Regions from separate parts of the Homo sapiens genome. Here region 2 is linked to region 1. Evidence: promoter capture Hi-C in 16 types of primary human blood cells and fetal thymus (Javierre and others, 2016). All regions are on one chromosome and are shown on one strand. Each heading gives the region's core, a stretch centred on a gene start or on the middle of the fragment in contact. The rest is flanking DNA. Distances are from core to core; before and after follow the strand shown.

The links. The method cuts DNA at HindIII sites, captures the fragments that hold promoters and counts their contacts. A CHiCAGO score of 5 or more calls a contact.
Region 2: a contact is called between a fragment that was not itself captured here and the fragment with the promoter of GDPD1 in region 1, in 1 of 17 cell types (megakaryocytes). The highest score is 7.4, in megakaryocytes.

What each region holds. Positions count from the first base shown.
Region 1 is chr17:59,219,075-59,222,382 of GRCh38, forward strand. GDPD1 (glycerophosphodiester phosphodiesterase domain containing 1) reads left to right here and starts at 1,437. Exons shown (of 10, transcript NM_182569.4): 1 at 1,437-1,677. The coding sequence starts at 1,536. RefSeq lists an enhancer at 1,463-2,013. The HindIII fragment of the contact is 5,185 bases long and covers 1,239-3,308 here.
Region 2 is chr17:59,440,608-59,443,830 of GRCh38, forward strand. All of the region lies in intron 2 of LINC01476 (long intergenic non-protein coding RNA 1476), which reads right to left. LOC124904040 (a long non-coding RNA gene) reads left to right here and starts at 66. Exons shown (of 3, transcript XR_007065867.1): 1 at 66-521; 2 at 858-1,029. RefSeq lists enhancers at 89-198, 209-268 and a silencer at 2,297-2,502. The HindIII fragment of the contact is 5,021 bases long and covers 1-3,223 here.

The sequences.
Region 1 (3,308 bases), core at 187-2,686:
TTTTTTTTTTTTTTTTTTTTTTTTTTGAGACGGAGTCTCGCTCTGTCACCCAGGCTGGAGTGCAGTGGCGCCTTCTCGGCTCATTGCAACCTCTGCCTCCCGGGTCCAAGAGATTCTCCTGCCTCGGCCTCCTGAGTAGCTGGGATCACAGGCACACGCCACCACCCCTGGCAAATTTTTGTATTTTTAGTAGAGATGGAATTTCGCCATGTTGGCCAGGCTCCTGACTTCAAATGATCTGCCCGCCTCAGCCTCCCAAAGTGCTGGGATTACAGGCTTGAGCCACCGTGCCCAGCCACCCCCTATTTTCTTCTAATTTTCTTTTTATAGTTGAGATAGGGTCTTGCTCTGTCGCCCAGGCTGGGGTGCAGTGGTGCAGTCATAGCTCACTGCAGCCTCGATTTTCCAGGCTCAAGCAATACTCCCACTTCAGCCTCCCAAGTAGCGTGACTACAGGTGCACGCCACCACGCCGGGCTTATTTTGTTTTATTTTTTGTAGAGATGGGGTTTCGCCATGTTGCCCAGGCTGGTCTCGAACTCCCGGGCTCAAGCGATCCACCCTTCCTTCCCGGCCTCCCTAAGTGCTGGGATTACAGGCGTGGGCCACCGCGCCCGGCTGAATCAGGATTTTAAATATTCACTCTGCTTTTCTAGTCCTGTGGGAGATATGGTCTTCTCCGTAAAATTTCTCCCTCAGTCCTGGGTGATTTATTTCTTTTGCATTGAAGTGTGTGGCTTTTCGTGTGTTAGCAGTTTGTAATTTGTCGGGTAAAAGGAAAACTAGTAGGGCCTTCTGGAACTTAGTTATCTGTCTTTCTAGGACTTTTAGGTAATACCTTATAACCTTAACAAAGTTTCCTTATTTTATACGGACTTGTAAGTCAACAAATACTTCTACAGTGCCTATTGTGTACAAAGAATGAGGATTGCACTTTCACAATGAAATGAGGGAGGACAGGGGCCGATCTCTCAGATATTTGACTGATAAACCAGTACCTTTTCTAGTATATGCGACCATAGGGGAAATTCTCTCTAGGCTAGATAAACGGAGGAGTTTATTTAGTGTTTTAGCAAGCTTTATCGCCTCCATAGGTACAAATTATTTGCATTTTCTAGAGCAAGGGATAAGACGCGCCCTGGAATCTTTCCTTTTTGATGTGGATTTTCCAATTAGGAAAGGCTGCCCGTGAATAGTCTTTTCTGCTTGAGTGATGGCCAACACACTGGCAGGTTTGCAAGCTTTCTCTTCATGAGGGTCCGTCCACAGAGCTAGGTGACAAACGCTCAGTCCAGGATCTCTGCAGGTTCCTACACGGGAGCCGGAGAGCGCCTGCGCGTCGGAGCCTCTTTGTTGCTGGGGCGCTGGGGTCCAGCTGCGCGTGCGCAGTAGGCCGGCACCGACAAGTGCGCTGCACCAGTGGCACCGGCTGGGGGCGAGCCGACCTCGAGCAGCCGCCGCCGCCGCCGTCGTTGCTACTGCCGCAGCGGAGTTCAGAGGGCCCGGAGGTGGGAGACTTCCCACACGGTGACTGAGATGTCGTCCACTGCGGCTTTTTACCTTCTCTCTACGCTAGGAGGATACTTGGTGACCTCATTCTTGTTGCTTAAATACCCGACCTTGCTGCACCAGAGAAAGAAGCAGCGATTCCTCAGTAAACACATCTCTCACCGCGGAGGTGAGAGGGGTCCCCAGAACCCGATGACGGAGGTGGGGGAGGCTGAGGGTCCTTTGCGGCTCCGCAAAAGGCAGCCGGGTGCCAATCCCTGAGAGTTTGAGGAAGAATGGGGTTGTGTGAATTGAGGGCTCTTCCGGAGGTGAAGGCTGTGTGAAGGGAAGGTCTCCTGAGGGGAGGGAAGGAGAGGGATTCCCGGTCAGAGCCACGGCGGGGGTCTCTCGAGGGCAGCAGTGTGAGGGGTTCTCTGAAACGGGAAAGACACGGTCGAGAATGAAGGGTAGGTGGAGCGTTTCTCGGCGGATGGAAGGATGATCGCAAGGTCCCTTCCTAGCAGCAAGACACAAAGGGGGAGCGCCGTGCAGAACCGAGGGTACCCCGCGGGGGGCACCGGGAGCACACTGCTCCGAGCGAGCTAGTGGCTGAGTGGATGGGAAGAGCCGAGGCGACGAGGAGGGCTGGGGATTTGCATGAAGCTGGACGAGCTGTAACCCCTTGTCTGCGGTGCTGGGGGCCCGTCCCACCCCCACGTTCCGAGCACTCATAATTGAGAAGAGAGGGAAACCGAGTCCCCCGAGCCAGGGACATTTCCCAAGGTCACAATTAGAGCTAGGGCTGAACTGAGACAGGAGCTACAGCGTCCTGGTCCTCAGGGCTGGAAACCTTGCATCTTTTTTTTTTTTTTTTTGAACACTGCAATAAATAAATAAATAAATAAATAAATAAATAAACACGCAAAGACACGTGGATTTTCAACAGACTAAAAATGATTTCGTTTAGGACAGGACAGTATTGTTTAAAGAAAACAAAAATAAGTTTCTTTTGGAAAAGTGTTTTGCTAAAAGGAGCCCAGGTAGTCCACCCTCTAATTTCCCAGATAACAGGCCAAATCTTTGCTTCTTCATTATTGTGTAATAATGTGTCTTCATTGCATTTCAACTATGATGTATAAAGTGCGGTGAAATTGGATTATTTTCAATCAATTTTAACTGTTCTTTAAGGCTGAATCTTAAACCGGTTTAAAATTTGCTTGAAATTTAATACACACTTGAAATGATAATTTCTAGGAGTTTACAGTCTAAAACTTGGTGTAGTACCATAATCACTTTACTAACAAGTATTGGCCAAGGAAAAAGGTTTTGAAATATAAATACGGAAGTACATTATCATTCTTCTATATAATTTTATTAGTTAAGCATAGTTCTAATGAGTGACTTCAATAGTATTCTAGCCTTCCCACTCATGAAAAGCCTCAGAGGTTTTAAAGGGTGGTCAGCCAAATGCCTTGTTATTGTTTATTTGGGTTATCTGTTTTAATAGCTACCTGGTTAAACTGTAGGATGACATTTAACTACTAAGGTGCCTTCAACCATTGGAACCAGGGACCGACTTTTAGTATTCAAGTTGCTGTCACAGAAGCAATTTTCTTTTTTCTTTTTGTGTTTTTGTTTGTTTGTTTTTTTGTTTGTTTGTTTTGAGATGGAGTCTCGGTCTGTCACCCAGGCTGAAGTGCAGTGGCGCGATCTCGGCTCACTGCAAGCTCCTCCTCCCGGGTTCACGCCATTCTCCTGCCTCAGCCTCCCGAGTAGCTGGGACTACAGGCGCCCGCCACCACACCCAGTTAATTTTTTTTA
Region 2 (3,223 bases), core at 622-3,121, 220 kb after region 1:
GCCTGGGTGACAGAGCAAAACCCTGTCTCAAAAAAAAAAAAATAAATAAATAAAGGAGAGTCAAGTCTCTCAGGGCCTTGGTTTACTTATCTGTAAAATGAAGGTATTGGGCTAGAAGATTCCTAGCAGCCCTAACAGGTTAACTAACAGCCAACTTGGGAGAAAGGCAAAGAGACAAGAATTCCAACGCTGGCTACTTGACAGCACAATGTGACTGGAGTCTCTTGGCTGACTTGTATTCTCTCACTGGTCTCAGCCCAAATGCTTGCCCTGATATGGTACTAAGTTATCCCTTCCTAGAAAAGTTGGTGCCTCACATCCGCCTGCCTGTTGTAGAAAGACGTGAAAAGACACGCCCTGTGCTGCCACCTAGTGGTTCCTCTTCTATCAAGGCAGGGTAGACTCTTCCTTTCTGTTCTCCATCCACCGGCTATGAGGGTCTAACAGGAGAGACTAAAAATAATGCACTTCCAGGTGCCACCGCTTTAAGGGAATCAGGGACTATGACTAAGAACTACAAGGTCTTCTAAACTTTATAATTTCCTCCGTATTGTTATTTCCTGTCTGTTTCGCTGCAGCGATTAGCAGTAAAACTCTAAAAACAAAAATGACCAAGGTTGTTTTTAAGGTCAGCAAGGAAGCAGGGAACTGGGGAGAGACAGCACCCCAGGGTTTGAGGTAAACAACACCAGGAGATGGAGTGGGTGGAAGGAGCTGAATAGCGGAAAGGAAAGAGGGTGAAGTCCTCTGGCTTGTTTGAAAAAGGAAAGAGGGGGTGGGAGGATGAAGTTGCCTTTTAGCTGGAATGAAAGTCATCATCTTAATAGCATTGTCATTCTTTCCTGTTTTGTCTTTAGATGCACAAATCTGTTTTCAAGCCTGGAAAATGAAGCAAATGTGTGGTTTTCAGCTACTGTTGCAGTTCAGGGGCCTTTGTAGCAAATGATACTCCCCTAGACTAAGGATCCGAAATACAAATGTCTATAGAAAGGCCACGCAGATATCGTACTTGGATGGAGGCAGCCAGAGGTAAGGCTGTTGGGAGTGGTGGGGACTGTGGTAAACAGGAGAGTACTCACTCCATCTAAGGAAGCAGAAACAACCAGTCCCAGGTGATTATGGGCCTAACCAAACCGTGTACCCACATTGCTAGATCTTTCACATTTTCAGGAGAAGCTGGAAACTTGGATTATTATGTGAAGTCACCTTATTTTTAAATGTTGGCGGCTAATGTTGCTTAAAAACAAACAACAGTACTCTGAGCCAAATAAAACATATCAATGAGACATATTTAGCTCAAAGGCCAACTCTTTGAAAACATGAATACAGAGCATTTTGCAATCTGGAACGCTAAAGCACTAATATGATTTTTTCAAGGCATGTGGTCTTCTTCTGAATAACAAATGACAAGGCAACAAGCAAATACCAGGTAAACTGGGGAACTGCAAAATGCTTTGTGTTACGATTTGTTAAAATTGACTATTGTGCCTAGAAATTTATATAAAGAGCTAGTTTGTTAATTTTTCATGTCCAACTGGAAAGCTCTGATATATTCTTTCAATAAATCATGAAACATTTATTGAGCACCTAATATATGCAAAGTAAAGATAAATAGGCTGGGTGCCGTGGCTCACACCTGTAATCCCAGCAGTTTAGGAGGCTGAGGCGGGAGGATTGTTTGAGCCCAGGAGTTCGAGAAGAGCCTGGGCAACTCAGGAAGACTTCATCTCTTCATCTTCATCTTACAAAAAATTTTAAAAATTAGCTGGATGTGGTGGTGCATGCCTGTAGTTCCAGCCACTTGGGAGGCTGAGGCAGGAAGACTACTTGAGCCCAGGAGGTCAAGGCTGCAGTGAGCCATGATGGTGCCGTTGCACTCTAGCCTGGATGACAGAGCAAGACCCTGTCTTAAAAATAAATAAATAAATAAATAAATAAATAAATAAATAAATAGGCTGGGTGCCGTGGCTCACGCCTGTAATCCCAGCACTTTGGGAGGCTAAGGCAGGTGAATCACCTGAGGTCAGGTGATTAGCTGGGCATGGTGGTGGGCCCCTGTAATCCCAGCTACTCGGGAGGCTGAGGCAGGGAGAACTACTTGAACCCGGGAGGCGGAGGTTGCAGTGAGCTGAGATTGTGCCACTGCACTCCAGCCTGGGCAACAGAGTGAGACTGTCTCAAAAAAAAAAAATACATAAAATAAAATAAAAATAAAAAAATAAAAATTTAAAAAGATAAATAAAACTTTTCCTATAAAAAGTGTCAGATTGTATTTACTTTATTTCTTTTTTCTTTGTTTTTTGAGACACAGTCCCAGTCTGTCTCCCCAGCTGGAGTATAGTGGTACGTTCTCAGCTCACTGCAACCTCCACCTTCTGGGTTCAAGCGATTCTCCTGCCTCAGCCTTCTGAATAGCTGGGATTACAGGTGCCCACCACCACGCCCAGCTAATTTTTGTCTTTTTAGTAGAGACGGGGTTTCACCATGTTGGCCAGGCTGGTCTTGATCTCCTGACCTCGGGTGATCCACTTGCCTTGGCCTCCGAAAGTGCTGAGATTACAGGTATGAGCTATGATGCCCAGCCCAAATAGTAAGTATTTTAGGCTTTGAGGTCCATTCAGTCTCCATCACAACTATTCAGATCTGCCTTTGTAGTCACAAAGCAGTCTTAGCCAATACATAAACTAATGGATATGGCTGCGTTCTAATAAAACTTTATTTACAACAGGCAGCAGTCCAAATTTGGCCTGTAAGCCATAGTTTGCCAATCTCAGATGTAGAAGATTTAAGAGAGCTTGCAGCCTAATGCAACAGTTTTATTTTTAAATATTTACATGTTTATATTTTGCCTACTAAGACAAGGAATTAGAGTAATATTGCTATGGTTTTTACGTTATATTTTGGGTGACAACACTGATTTTTTTTTTTTTTTTTTTTTGATACAGGGTCTCACTTGTCACCCAGGCTGGAATGCAGTGGCTCCATCATGGCTCACTGCAGCCTCAACCTCCTGGACTCAAGCGATCCTCCCCTCAGGCTCCCAAGTAGCTGGGACTATAGGCATGCATCACCACGTCTGGCTAATTTTGTATTTTTTTGTAGAGACAGGGTTTCGCCGTGTTGCCCAGGCCGGTCTCAAACTTCTGGGCTCAATTGATCCTTCTGCCTCAGACTCCCATAGTGGTGGGTTTACAGGTGTGGGCCACCATGGCTGGCCAAAAAC